Regions from separate parts of the Homo sapiens genome. Here all the other regions are linked to region 1. Evidence: promoter capture Hi-C in human tissues and cell types (Jung and others, 2019). All regions are on one chromosome and are shown on one strand. The core of a region is centred on a gene start or on the middle of the fragment in contact, and the rest is flanking DNA. Distances in the headings are between cores, read along the strand shown. Region 1 holds the start of SERINC5 (serine incorporator 5). Region 2 has its middle 9.2 kb from the start of TENT2. Region 3 overlaps TENT2 (terminal nucleotidyltransferase 2). Region 4 overlaps TENT2 (terminal nucleotidyltransferase 2). Region 5 holds the start of CMYA5 (cardiomyopathy associated 5).

The links. Contacts are between HindIII fragments. The study calls those that stand out against the background at their distance.
Region 2: a contact is called between a fragment that was not itself captured here and the fragment with the promoter of SERINC5 in region 1, in 1 of the 25 tissues and cell types used here (dorsolateral prefrontal cortex).
Region 3: a contact is called between a fragment that was not itself captured here and the fragment with the promoter of SERINC5 in region 1, in 2 of the 25 tissues and cell types used here (adrenal gland and dorsolateral prefrontal cortex).
Region 4: a fragment that was not itself captured here is called in contact with the fragment with the promoter of SERINC5 in region 1 in 1 of the 25 tissues and cell types used here (aorta).
Region 5: the fragment with the promoter of CMYA5 here is called in contact with the fragment with the promoter of SERINC5 in region 1 in 1 of the 25 tissues and cell types used here (neural progenitor cells).

What each region holds. Positions count from the first base shown.
Region 1 is chr5:80,254,678-80,257,567 of GRCh38, reverse strand. SERINC5 (serine incorporator 5) reads left to right here and starts at 1,520. Exons shown (of 12, transcript NM_001174072.3): 1 at 1,520-1,672. The coding sequence starts at 1,646. RefSeq lists enhancers at 1-420, 421-1,354 and silencers at 1,208-1,647, 1,758-2,037. The HindIII fragment of the contact is 12,197 bases long and covers 1-2,890 here.
Region 2 is chr5:79,601,802-79,604,691 of GRCh38, reverse strand. No RefSeq gene overlaps it. Among named protein-coding and RNA genes, the nearest start is that of TENT2, 9.2 kb to the left of the region's middle. The HindIII fragment of the contact is 5,080 bases long and covers 1-2,890 here.
Region 3 is chr5:79,649,111-79,652,000 of GRCh38, reverse strand. It overlaps TENT2 (terminal nucleotidyltransferase 2), which reads right to left. Exons shown (of 15, transcript NM_001114394.3): 10 at 2,811-2,890. Among named protein-coding and RNA genes, the nearest start is that of TENT2, 38 kb to the right of the region's middle. The HindIII fragment of the contact is 4,647 bases long and covers 1-2,890 here.
Region 4 is chr5:79,668,741-79,671,630 of GRCh38, reverse strand. TENT2 (terminal nucleotidyltransferase 2) reads right to left here. Exons shown (of 15, transcript NM_001114394.3): 12 at 2,603-2,739. Among named protein-coding and RNA genes, the nearest start is that of CMYA5, 20 kb to the left of the region's middle. The HindIII fragment of the contact is 3,773 bases long and covers 1-2,890 here.
Region 5 is chr5:79,688,486-79,691,375 of GRCh38, reverse strand. It overlaps CMYA5 (cardiomyopathy associated 5), which reads right to left and starts at 1,540. Exons shown (of 13, transcript NM_153610.5): 1 at 1,320-1,540. The coding sequence starts at 1,468. RefSeq lists an enhancer at 1,529-2,030. The HindIII fragment of the contact is 12,786 bases long and covers 1-2,890 here.

The sequences.
Region 1 (2,890 bases), core at 271-2,770:
CTATTTTTGTTTTGAGTTAGAGCCAACTGTCCTCATTCCTTTTCGTGGCTCTGAGTAGGGCCTGCTCCATTATATCTCTTTCTCTAAACGCCTGCATCTGAGATGCTGGAAAATCCTGCGCAGCTCATAACCCAAGGCCTGGTTTCCATTCACCTTTCCTCTTCTACTCCTAAGCTGCCCAAGACACTCCTTTGCCAGAGCTCTGTCTGGAAACGAGTCCCTCTAAGGTCAAGCCTTGCGTCATGTGCCAGGGGATCAGACGAGTGGATTCCAGGCCCAGTTTTACTTCCTCAACTTTGCTGTGAGGCTTTGGGCAAGTTATTTAACCTCTCTGGGCTTCAGTTGCCTCACCGCTAAAATGGGTACGGTAATGCTTATTTGAAAGAGCAAAGGGATTGGCGCAAAAATCGCACTAACAGAAATATCTTCATTCCGGCAGGGCGCGGTGGCTCACGCCTGTAATCCCAGCACTTTGGGAGGCCGAGGCGGGCGGATCACCTGAGGTCAGGAGTTCGAGACCAGCCTGGCCAAGATGGTGAAACCCCGTCTCTACTAAAAATACAAAAAATTAGCCGGGCGTGGTGGCAGGCGCCTGTAATCCCAGCTACTCGGGAGGCAGAGGTTGCAGTGAGCCGAGATCGCGTCACTGCACTCCAGCCTGGGCGACAGAGTGAAGCTCCGTCTCAGAGAAAAAAAAGAAAAAAAAAAAAGAAATACCTTCATTCCTCTTGGGGAGGTGGCTGTGAGGACAGCAGATCTGAGTGGGAGAAAACCTAGAGACGGCCTCCCTGCCTTCTGTATGGAACAAGCAATTATTGGGCACCCTCTTTTTAGTGAGGAAGCAGGGACGGAAAATGAGTCCTTGGGCCAGCGCAGGAGGAGAGGCTGGAAAACATATCAATATTCAGGAAGGCACGGAAAGGGCTCTCAATGGATCTCTCACCAAGTGCCATCAGGGCAGAACAGTCAAGGGCCCAGGGATTCGAGGAAGCTTGGGAGGCGCGGAGAGCCCAAAAGTTGAAAGTTTTCTTGGCAGATGAGGGAAGGAAAGGGATTTCAGGAACAAGGATCTCGTGGGTGGGCTGTCCCAGTCGGCGCGCGGCAGAGCGCAGACCAGCACCCGGCGGTCTGGTCTGTGCAGGAAAGGCAGGAACCGCTTACTAAGGCTCCAACCTTTTAGAGGCAGCAACAAGCTCTTTCTCTGGATCCGAAGGCGGAGAGGCGCTGCGCTCTCATTTGGCGAGGGCCCGAGCGCGGCCAGACCGCGCACCAGACCCGGAGCGTGGGGCCCAAAGGCTGGCGGCCGACTCCGGAGCTCGGCGCCCCAACCGGGAAGTGATCGCAGCAGCCCACCCGCCTGACGCCAGCGGAAGTGCGAGCCCGGGTCGAGCCTGCTCCGCCGCCGGGCGCCCGGGAAGGGGCGGGCACGGGGCGGGGCTGGGGGCGGGCGAGGCGGGGCCGGCGGCGGGGCGGGGCTTGGCCGCAGTTGTTTTTACCCAGGCCTCGGCGCCTAGGCGCTTCGCCGAGGCTGATCTTCGTTCAAGTGTGAGCTGCGGCTGAGCCCAGCGCTCGAGGCGCGAGGCAGCCAGGAGGGCCCGTGCGGCGCGGGGAGCCAGCGAGCGCGCCTTCGGCATTGGCCGCCGCGATGTCAGCTCAGTGCTGTGCGGGCCAGGTGAGCGAGGCCGGGCGCAGCGCGGGGGTTGTCAGATCGGAGAACCGGGCCAGGAGTCCAGGCGTGGAGGACCTGCCTGGGTGCGCTCCCAGCTCCGCGGCCGAACGTAGGGCCCGGGTGGGTCGCTCGGGCTGGCCCCGCGGCGCTCAGCCGTCCGGGAAATCCTGTGCCCTGGGCGGGCGGGAAGGGGCAGGGGGAAGCCCGAGAGGCTACCCCGGGGTCTTCCCGTCCGGCCTCCGGGACTCCGCGTGGAGCGGGGCGTGCCGGGCTCGGGCGGAGGATCCCGACTGCTCCAGGGGCGTGTCGCCTCTTGCGCCGAGCACTGGTGAATAGCGCTGAGCTCCGTAGCCCTCTCCACTCTGCTTGTCGGATGAATCCAGGAAGAAAAGTGGGTTTAGGCACCGTCTCCTTTGCTATGCCCTGAATAAAACTCGGGTCAAACAACCCAGGCAGGTTGCGCTTGGCATCTCGTAGTCGAGCGTGGGCTCTGTACCTTTGAGAATGTCTCGAAGCCTGACTTCCAAACTACCGGGCGCAGGTCTGGGCGAAGGGAAAACTCAGCCCTGCTTCCTGAATTTCCCGACCCAACCCTGGCTCGGTACTAGCACGACTGCCTGGGTAGGGCTGGAACCTTCCTGCCTCTCTTTGCAAATAAACTTGTTCGAACCTGTTTTTTAACTCTCGCCTATTTAAACCTATGATGTCTTAAAACATTATGTCTCCTACCAGTTACTGCATCAGTGTAGAATTAGTACGTCTTAGCCCTGTAATGCTGGTTTCACTCCTTCCTGCAGAGTTAGAAAAAACGAAGTAGGTGAGTCTCTTGGATGTGGAGCTCTTTTCTCCCTTTACATGTGGATTATCAGCGTTTCGGTACAGAGTTTTAATGGAGTGTTTTCACGAACGAATCAGACTCTAGGGAGCATCCTGGTTCGGGGTGTTCTTGCTGACACTCAGCCTTTCCACAATCGAGGCCAGCTGTAAGTGATGGAGTGGTTAAACTGTGGGTTTCTGTAACCGGCGATTATACTGGCAGATAATCTGTCCTGTTTAGAGTGGCCACGTGGAGCTGTCTTGGTTTTTGAGGTCTAATACTGTGCTTGGCATACATTAAAGCTGGCCTTTTCAGAGTTGAGGAAATTGAGGCTTTTGACGACTGAGACGAAATGATTTTTTTTCCCTGTGTCAGGCAGAGAGAGAAAGAGAATGAGAATGGTC
Region 2 (2,890 bases), core at 99-2,598, 650 kb after region 1:
ACATTCATGTATAAGTTTCTGTTTAAACATGTTTTCAACTATCTTGGGTATATACCTAGGAGTTAAATTTTTAGGTCATAGGGTAACACTATGTTTAATTTTTTGAGGAACTACCAAACTGTTTGCCAAAGTGGCTGCACTATTTTACATTAACATCAGCAGCCTGTGAGTGTTTCAATTTCTCCACATCCTCATCAATGCTTATAACTGTCTTTTTTCTTATAGCAATCTTGGTAGTTGTAGAGTGATATCACATTGTGATCTGCAATAGTTTGCTTTTGAACCATCAAAGCCAATTTTAACACGAAAAACAGTAAATAAACTCTTAGTGTTATTTTTTTCTTTTTTGAGACGGAGTCTCACTCTGTCACCAGGTTGGAGTGCAGTGGCTCGATCTTGGCTCACTGCAACCTCTGACTTCCTGGTTCAAGCGATTCTCCTGCCTCAGCCTCCCAAGTAGCTGGGATTACAGGCATGAGCCACCATGCCCAGCTAATTTTTGTATTTTTAGTACAGATGGGGTTTCACCATGTTGGCCAGGATGGTCTCGATCTCCTGACCTCAGGAGATCCACCCACCTCGGCCTCCCAAAGTGCTGAGATTACAGGCATGAGCTATCATGCCTGGCCAATTCTAAGTATTTTTATATAGTTTTTGACATCATGATGCCTGAAAATGTATGTGGATCACATTTTGAAAATGGCTTAAGTAGGTAGGGTATTGCAGATGCCCTGAAAAAATTGATAGTAGAGAGATTTACTGGGAGCTTACTATATGCCAGGCACCTTGCTAAGCATTTTACATCAATTACCCTTTATAATCTGATTAACAGCCCTCTAATAGAGCTACTATAATTATCTCCAATTTATGGGTGAGAACACTGAATCTCCAGCCAAGCAACTTGTTCAATGTCCCACAAATAATGCCAAAGACAAGCTTTGAATTTAGAGATAGCCTGACTCCGGCGCTCCATGCCTTCTCCCCCAGCAGAGCGTAGCCTCCTCCCACACTCAACCCCAAACCTTGGGGCAGAATCAGCAAAGAAGGGTAGTAGTGAGGGACTTGGGGACTTTTGATGTGGTTTTTGTGATTTTTTATTTTGTATTTGGCATGCAAGCTCTTCTGTGATTTGCAATCATTCTACAGCTAATTCTAGGTTCCTTCATCCTGGATTTGTTAATTTACATCCCTATTCCTGTATACCCAACATGCTTCTGTTATGTCTGCTGAAAATGTTGCTTTTTCAAAAGGAGATGGGAGTGGGGAGGCAGATTGTTTAGAGAGATGCTAACCAGCCTACAGGGCTCTCTTGGCCCAGAAGAGAGAAGGTAGAAGAATATGCCCACTGAGTAAACTGGAGGGAATTTACAAGATCTGGGAGTTCTACTTCCTTTGTGCATGAGTGCGCATTGGTACATTCATACGTCCATGTCTCTTCTTGGCATTCACTTCATGGAGAACCTGAACTAACTGCACTAACTCAGAGGGTTCAGGGGAACCTTTCCTTGAAGAGTAGAAGTTAGGTGAAAATTTGAGATAAGAAAGAAAGCAGTACTGAGATAAGCAGGAGCTTGGCACAATGCCTGCCACAGGGTTGGTACTCCATAAACACTGCTCGACCAAACGGGATGCAAAGCACTTTATGTACACATGTCATTATTCCTCACAACCAATTTTACAAAAGGAGTTCCATTATTTCCCCTGTTTTGCAAATGGCAAAGCTGAAGATAAGAGCTATAAAGTAAACTGCCCAAGGCCTGACAATAATTTAAAGCTACAGCTAGGATACAAACAGGTTTGTTTGTTTCCAAGCTTGTTATTTTTAACTGCTTAACTACCAAGTTATACTGGCTCCCTTCAGAGCAGTTGAAAACAGTCTTTTAAAAGAAAATGGCCAGCCTCAGTGGTCCATGCCTGTAATCCCAGCACTTTGGGAGGCTGAGGGGGGTGGATCACCTGAGATCAGAGTTCAAGACCAGTCTGGCCAACATAGCGAAATCCCATCTCTAAAATACAAAAATTAGCTGAGCGTAGTGGTGGGTGCCTGTCATCCCAGCTACTCAAGAGGCTGAGGCAGGAGAATCGCTTGAATTGTTGTCCAGGCTGGAGTGCAATGGCACGATCTCAGCTCACTGCAACCTCTGCCTCGGGAGGTTGCAGTGAGCTGAGATCGTGCCATTGCACTCCAGCCTGGGCAACAAGAGGGAAGCTAGGGAAACTCCGTCTCAAAAAAAAAATGCCGGGCACAGTGGCTCATGCCTGTAATCCCAGCACTTTGGAAGGCTGAGGCGGGCAGATTACCTGAGGTCAGGAGTTCAAGACCAGCCTGACCAACATGGAGGAACCCCCTCTCTACTAAAAATACAAAAAATTAGGCCAGGTACAGTGGCTCACGCCCGTAATCCCAGAACTTTGGGAGGCCGAGGTGGGCGGATCACAGCGTCAGCAGATCGAGACCATCCTGGCTAACACGGTGAAACCCCATCTCTACTAAAAATACAAAAAATTAGCTGGGCGTGATGGCACGCGCCTGTAGTCCCAGCTACTCAGGAGGCTGAGGCAGGAGAATCACTTGAACCTGGGAGGCAGAGGTTGCAGTGAGCCGAGATGGCACCACTGCACTCCAGCCTAGGCAACAGAGCAAGACTCGGTCTAAAAAAAAAAAAAAGCGTATATATATATGTGTGTGTGTGTATATATATATAATATGTGTGTATATATATATGTGTGTATATATGTATATATATACACACATATACATATACACACATACGTATATGTATATATGTACATATACGTATATATACATATATGTATATATGTACATATACGTATATATACATATATGTATATATGTACATATACGTATATATACATATATGTATATATG
Region 3 (2,890 bases), core at 252-2,751, 610 kb after region 1:
TAAAAACTGCCAATTTAAGAATATTAATCCCTACATCTGTAATACATGTTCAAGTGAAATTCTGTAAGTAACAGGACAGAGTATAAGATTATATTCTGTCAAGAATGTAGAATGCCAATTTCACCCTAGGAGTATACCATAAAACTTTGATTACCAAGAACGGACAAGGTTGACACACTATGAAATTAAGAACATTAACATAAACACTTTAGTCAAATAATGGCACCCTATCTCCAGACAAAGATGGGATGAAGATGTGTCTAAAGGTAGAATCAAGATTTTCTTGAGAACTAGCTAGCTCTAAGACTACTTCAATTAAGATAAATATGAAAAAATGCTCCCCAAATTCTCCACCATAGAGGAAAGGTTACTAAGCTGTCATAAACAAAAAAAATCAAAATGTGTGTGTGTGTGCCAAAAGTGGAAAGGGTGTAACAATCAGACTGTTTTGTGATGGTCTGTCCATTATTCTGAGATTATATCATTGCTTTTTTGGTATTTTATGCACCATCTTTTATGAAGTGATGGTAGTAATTGGTAGCAGTTTTTTGGTTCTAATACTTAACATAGCAAAATAAAAACTCCAGTTTGGTTCTTTTTTTTTTGGATATTACTTTCCTTGAAATCTAAAAGTCTGAGAATCATGTAATGAACAGGTAAAAGAAAATGTAAGAACATTATTTAAGAAGACCATGTTTTTGTAGAGGAAAAAAGAACATCCACCCTTTACAGTTATTTATTTGTCCCCAACTTTTGGAATTAAAAGACCTGAACTTGACATTTATGTATTTATATTTGGCTAAACATCTTGAAACCTTTGCAAAAAAAACAAAAGCCAGAAAAAATAAAACAAATATTAACAATAACAATTTTTGGGTGTGAAAATTCATGGGAAATGTATTTTTTTTCTGTCCACTTTAGTATATTCTCAGGATTTTCTATGAAATGTATACACAACTTATTCAAAATGAATTTTAAAATGTAAAATAACTTTTAATATCACTACGTTTTAAGTATTATTTTAAACATAATAATTCTGAAACAAAATAGAGAATTCCTGACAACCAATCTCACCTCTGAACTGCTCTTTTTTAAGGCATTGGTAAGACAATCTTTGTTTTTGTCCCAACCACTTCTATCTATCCTCCTATACTAGTAAAAGTGACTCACTATAAAGAAATTCTCAATTTGGGTATCATCCTCCAATCCCTATCCAAAGAAGCCCAGTCTACCAGGAATTAGGTTAACAAAATTGTAATCCCCAACCCTAACCATTTTTGATCTATAGCATAAGGAAAGGTGCCTTCTTCTTTTCCCAGTTCCCAGTATCCTCAGTACAGAAACACAGCTATAAGGGCATCAAATCATCTCAACTTTCCAAGCCCAAGCTGCTGTTGACAAAATTGCTAATATTATCTGTTATCCCTCTCAGAATCTAAATACAAGGAGCACCAAACAATGCAATAAAAGGATATTTTTCAATACTTTTTTTTAATGACTACACTGTAATAATTATTATTGAGCATATCACATGTTGATAGTGCTCTATCAGCAGCTCAATTCACAACCGTGGTAAAAATGTCACATTTTATTAGTAATCTGTGAGTTGTTTAATAATTCACGTTTTGGTAGGTAACAGCTATGAAAATGTGACATTTTACAAGTCAAAAATGTAAGCTTCATGAAGAAGGTAATTGTTTTTGTATGTTGTTCACTGCTGTATTCTCAGATCCTAGAATACCTAGCATTTATTTGGTAGGTATTCTATACATATTCATAGAATGAAGAAATGAGTATTATATATGCTAAAATATGTTTTCTCCTATTATTGTAATCTTTGGAAACCAAGACTCTAAACTGTGGAAGTATCACCAACCCAGAACAGATCAAGCCCCAGACATCCTGGCAAACGGTCTTCTACTACATTCATACCAAGTCTTTCACTCGGTCTTCATGTCACCACATATTCATATGTTCAGTTGGTTAGTTATTAAACATCTCAGTCTCCTGGTCTAATAACTACAAAACAGTAGATGCATCCATCTTTTAACAACTCTTGGTGTCAGGCTAAGTAGAAAGTATAAAGCAGCTTAATGTTTATTTCTTGGATTGCTACATATGTAAGATATTTTTGAGAAATATGAAAGTAAGGGTTTCAAATAGATCCAGTCAGTCTGTCCTATACGTCTAGGAAATTTTCAGTACCGTAAAAATTCTCACACTTATGAATGGTCCAAATTACAAGTGTTCACTTATTACTGTTTGCCACTATGCATGCGACAAAAGTATAGCTTTTACCAGAATGGCCTCATAAACAATGACTAACCAGACAAAATTAAAATTTGGGAGCCAATCTGATAAAACAGCCCTATGAAGATAAAATCTAGTTAAGGAGGGCAACTCAGAGATTAAAAGCTTCTTTAACCAACAGGAAAATAATTTAATTCCTGTCTCAAATTCAAAATTAAAAATATGATGAATAGTACTTGAGCTAACTTTTATAGGCCTTTTGAACATTCGTCTGCTTCAAGATAATGGGTCCACAATACAGTGGTGAAAGTTCTTTGAAAACAAAAGTGACTATAGAAAAACTTCCAAAAAATAAAAAAAAAAACAGTGAAACTTCTATATTTTCCAAGGAATAACACTTCTGAAACATTTGTCCAAAGCAACAAAACAGGAAATGTGTTTCATGGACCTTAGAAAGAACTTTTAAAACAATACTATTTGAAAATAGGGTCAACAGAGAAGACACCATAATAAAGCTGTCTTTTACTTTTAAAAATTGGGTAAAACCCCATTATACTTACTTTGTAAATAGTGCAAAACCATCAATACAAGACTATAGCTGCTTAAAGTACCACGACTGGCATCATTTATCTGATGGTGA
Region 4 (2,890 bases), core at 206-2,705, 590 kb after region 1:
TCAAGACCAACCTGGCCAATATGGTGAAACCCCATCTCTACTAAAAATACAAAAAAATATTAGCCAGGCATGGTGGCACGCACCTGGAATCCCAGCTACTCAGGAGGCTGAGGCAGGAGAATTGCTTGAACCCATGAGGCGGAGGTTGCAGTGAGCTAAGATCGCACCACTGCACTCCAGCCTGGGCAACAGAGCAAGGTTCTGTTTCAAAAAAAAAAAAAGAAAAAGAAAAAAGAACTTTTTAAATGATTACCTCAAAGTTCAGAAGAAATCCTTATAGACATTTTTAACAATTGCCATAATTCTTTTATACAGCTTCTAGTTTATTACCATGACTACATTCTTGGCTGTGATCCCCACATTTCAAATTTCTGAAAATATCTCATATGAAATGACAAATGTACTAGATGGTGAAGTTCTGAAACCTCTTTCCAAGCATCAGTATCATCTGACCCAGCAGACTAGTTTCCTTTAATATTAAATTAACATACAAACCTACACATCCACTATCTTGTTTCTGTTCAACAAAGCAGGTGATTTTCAAGGTATTTGTATACAGATGCTCTAATCCTACACTATACATGGGAAAAAAGTTATCTTTGTTCTGTGAATCCTTTTCCCCCTCCACAAACATCCCCCAGTCCCTAATTTATATAACATAATAAACAATGTCAATACAGTCTAACAATTAAGAATGTAGTTTTGGAGTCCAGCTTGAAAGTGAATCCCAACTCTCCCACAATCTAGCTGTAGATTGCCATGGGCAAGTTTCATGTACACAAATTCCCTAAGCTTGACAGAGGTTATTATGAGGATTAACTGAAATCCATGGGAATCACTCAGCTTACTACAGCACACTAGATAAATTCTCACTAAACATTAGCTATTGTTATTGCAATATCTTAAAGAGAACTCTAGAATAACCATTAAACCTTCACAGTCTATTTATGTACTATGTCTCATCCAGTCTTTAATCTTTCTTCATCTTAATATAAATGAAAGCTCCGTGGCCGAGCACGGTGGCTCACACCTGTAATCCCAGCACTTTGGGAGGCTGAGGCGGGCAGATCACTAGGTCAAGAGTTTGAGACCAGCCTGGCCCATATGATGAAACCCCATCTCTACTAAAAATACAAAAATTAGCCAGGCGTGGTCACGGGTGCTTGTAGTCCCAGCAACTTGGGAGGCTGAGGCAGGAGAATTGCTTGAACCAGGGAGGCAGAGGTTGCAGTGAGCCGAGATCACGCCACTGCACTCCAGCCTGGGCAACACAGTGAGACTCCGTCTCAAAAAAATAAATAAATAAATAAATAAATAAAAGCTCTTACCTTTTTATACTTCTCCAGTATGACAGTTAAGTGTGAATTCTGTGTCAAAGCTATCTGAAATCCTTTTTTCTTTTTTTTTTTTTGAGATAGAGTTTCGCTCTTGTTGCCCAGGCTGGAGTGCAATGGCACAATCTCAGCTTACTGCAACCCCCACCTCCCAGGTTCAAGCGTTTCTCCTGTCTCAGCCTCCCAAGTAGCTGGGATTATAGGCATGCACCACCATGCCCAGCTAATTTTGTATTTTTAGTAGAGAAGGGGTTTCTCCGTGTTGGTCTGGCTGGTCTCGAACTCGCGACCTCACCTGCCTCGGCCTCCCAAAGTGTTGGGATTACAGGCATGAGCTACCGCGCCCGGCCTGAAATACTACTCTTATTAGCTATGTGATCTTGGAGCACGTTACTTCCCCTCTCTCTATGCTTCACTGGTAAAATGGGCATAATATACCACACACCAGATAACAATTATGTAAACGGAATGAAATGATAAATATAAATAATAATATAATAAATATATGTTTAGAACCATTTTCCCATCTAGTAATAGCAATTTATTATTATTATTACTATTATTATTACCCTATGCAAACTTCTTCAAAGTGGTATCCAATGGTAACTGTACCTGCCTCTAATACTGTACAATTCCTCAATCTTCTCTCTTCCCCCCTCAAGCTTTTCCAGATTGATCAGAAGAGCTGCAAGTAACTCCTAACTCCACTCTCTCTGGACTTAGAACTCACATAAGAACTTTCAGTTCTGTCCAGCCTGATTATACATTCTTTGTTTTATGTTTACATATCATCTTCAAAAAAGAAAAGAAAAAAGGAAAAGACACATTCCTCAATTTGTATATCACACTAACACAACTATTTACGAAGATGCCAAGTATTAAATAGATCTTCATTAGTCTTTCTTAGCAGTGTTTTTTTACTATACATTTTAAGTGTATAGAAAATGGATGTTCCAAACTACACAGCACCTGCACAGGACCAACACATAGGGCCTACCACTATTGAAATCAACTAAAACTGGGCCTACTGAACTATAAATGTATTTATTAGCTAAGAATATAAAATCTATCTAGCTTCCAATAATTCATTGTCACATAGGAAATTTTATAAACTATACATTTCTGGACAACTTTACAACACTGGAAGTGACAAACACAGCTCCTGACTAAATCTGTAGCATTTACTTATATATTCGTATTCATATATATACATACATACACACACACACACATATAAGTGAACAAACACAATTTAAAGTTTTACTTACTCAAATTCTGTAGCATAATATTTAAGAAAGCCCAGTAAGAGGTCCCCAAGGTTTGATTCATTCTTTGAGAGGTAAGGAGGAACATTACATGGAGCTTGATGTACAAGGTGCAGCTGTATAGCAGGACTAAAAGACTCCTGTCAAAAAGAAGAAGGGGAAAAAATGTAAAGCCATTTAAAACACACACTAAGAAACTTTATAAATCCTGAACTAGGCTCCTCTTTGAAAAAGAGAGAAGAAATTTACTCTATTTGGCAATTTGGAAACCTGAAATTTTTCTTCCACTAA
Region 5 (2,890 bases), core at 291-2,790, 570 kb after region 1:
AAATTGTGGTTGGGCAAGGATATGAGGATCCCAGACAACAGTAAGGGAAAGGTTATAAAAGCTGAGTTGACAGACTTCCCCTTCTCAACACTGCCAAGGGATCACAGGTCCCCTACTCCCTGATCCACTTCCTACAGGTGCCTTCTCCTCTGCTCTTCCTGTTTGTAGTCCCTGCCCACTACTTCAAGGCAGCTCCAGCCCAACACTCCCTCTTCTGCCCTTGCACAGTACCCATAGTCCTCCCTTCCACCTCTATATAGTCTCACACTCCCCATGTTAGGGAAACGTTTCCCCATAGGGGAAAAAGTTAGGGAAACTTTTTCCACAAGGTCCTTGAGGCCAGGGACTGTGCTTGCTTCCCACTTGGCAGCTGTTTGATAAACAGGTGACATACATTCAGGACTTCTTGTCTGACCATCCATCCTCCTCAATGCCCCTCTATGGGCTACTTCTTCAACATCGGCTCTGCTGGCTTTGATTAGGTAAGCTGGGCGTTCTGAGATGGTACACACCCACCTGCCACCTTCAAAGCCTTTCTACTGTTATGAACAGACTGAGGAAGAGACATCACTGACTGACACACAGTCAGGAAAAAACCCAAAACTCATACTCAAGGAAAACAAGTGAAGGTAGAAGCTAATCCAAATAGACATTAGATGATTTCTATTATTCTCATTTTAGGGCCTTCTTAAAGGGACGGAGGGTGGGAGATCGAAGGGTGGGAGGTGCATCTTTTGTACATAGTATTACTTCATCGCATTCACGGAAACTGATATTTGGGATTTGGGACCAGGACTTGAAGAACAGGGATTACTGAAACTCATGCTTCTTTTCCCCCAAAGAATTTATGGGCCTTTGTATCAAAATAAGGTCACCTTATTGCAGCCTAGCCTACTGCTAGGCCCCCGGGGAGACCGCCATTCATCGGAAGGTACCAGTGCGCCTTCACCGCCTCCACCCCACCCCCTTCTCCTCTAGCGCAGGATTTCGCGATTGTTCCTGTGCCTCGGGCCAGATGTACGTGTTCCAGCACATTTCGGCAGTTATGCAGGACCTAAGTAAATCCTCAGGAATAAACAAGAGCAGCGAGTCACAAGGAGCTGGGGGCGGGGGTAATGAACTCTGCTGCAGGCGGGCCTGTCACTCCAGCTGACAGCGAGCACCTTCACCTTCAAGTTCTTTTAAACGACAGTGCACCCAGAGAGAAAGTGCCTAGCTCGAGGCAAACGAACCCCAGAGCTTAAAAACTTAAAGCAAACAAGCAAGGGTGCTGCTAGCTGCCCTGCAGGCCCTGGGCCGAGGAGAGAGGCTCGCGCTACCTGGAGTCCGGCTCCTCCTCCGACTCCGCCGCCGTCTCGTCCTCCTCGCCCTCCGACTCCTCCTCGGTCTCCAGCTCCCGGGTCGCCTCCTCGTCCCCGTCGGAGCCGAGAAAGCTCTCGCCAGCGTGGTTGCTATCGCGGCTCGCCATCGCCTCTCCCGGGCCTGGGCCGGGGCCGGAGCCGGAGCCGCCCGCGCCGCGCCTGGTGTTCTCCCTCCGACTGCTCTGGCCCCTGCCCTCCCCAGCCCTGCCCCTGCGGGGGCGGCTCGGGTTCCCGGCGCCGGGGGCGGGCGAGCCCCGCGACTTTAAATAGAAGGCGTCAAAGTTTCGCCACCGAGCTTCTGGGGCCCGGGCTCAGCTTCTCCTCTTCCCTGAGCCCTCCCCCGCCCCCGTTTCGCCAGATCCCTGGCGGGCCTTTCGGACAACTGGAGATCACTTTAAGGGGCGCGGGCTCCGGCTGCACCAGGGGGTTCAAAGGAGGAAAGGCAACCTAGCCCCGTCTCTTATTTCCTCCAGAGTGAGTCTTTTCGGTTTTGAGCTGAGCTACTTTCTGGACCCTTTATCCCAAACAATACCCTGAGCTGGGCACTTAACTACCAGGCACTCTGCTAAGGGTCTCGCTTTCATTACCTCGATTCTGTGGTGGTACCTGTAGAAGGTTTTACTGTAGTGCTGGTTTCCCAGATGAGGAAACTGAGACTCCGAAGAGCTCCAGCAGCTCAGGCTGTCATTGCTAGTAAAATGACCCAATGAGAAACAAAGCTAGGCGTGCCCTGCTCAAAAGCCCAGTTTTGAACCAGTGTTCCGTCCCGGCTCTCTTTATATCGCAAGTCAATATACTGTGTATTTTCTTGCTCAGTGGTCCCTGTTATTGAGCCAGGAAACTTTATCTCCACTCATCTTAAACCTTGAGGAGGAGCAATTTCCCCCACGTTAGCAAAAAGCTAAGTTTTGTCTGAAACTGGCCCAAATGCCCCAAACCTTTCCCCGGATCAAGTTGTGGTTAAAACCCCTCAATGGCTTCCCACTGCTCAAAGACTGAACCCCAACACCCTCACAAAGGTAACGGTTGCCTAACAGGCCATGTTTTACCTGTCTACTCTTTTTTTTTTTTTGAGATGGAGTCTTGCTCTTGTCGCCCAGACTGGAGTGCAATGGCGCGATCTCGGTCCAGTGCAACTTCCACCTCCTGGGTTCACGCGATTCTCCTGCCTCAGCCTCCCGAGTAGCTGGGACTACAGGCGCGCACCACCATGCCCAGCTAATTTTTGTATTTTTAGTAGAGACGGGGTTTCACCATATTGGCTAGCCTAGTCTCGAACTCCTGACCTCAGGTGATCTGCCCACCTCAGCCTCCCAAAGTTCTGGAATTACAGGTGTGAGCCCCCACGCCCAGCTGGTCAGGTGTCTTTAGAAGTCAGGAGTTCCCAACATTGTCAAGTCACTCCACTGTGTCTTTATTAACACAATTCCTTCTGCCTCAAAGGTTGGTCCCATTTTTACCAGGATACCCATCATTCAAGATCACCACCTTTCACTGAAATCCCAAAGTTAAACTCAGTACCTCTCTTC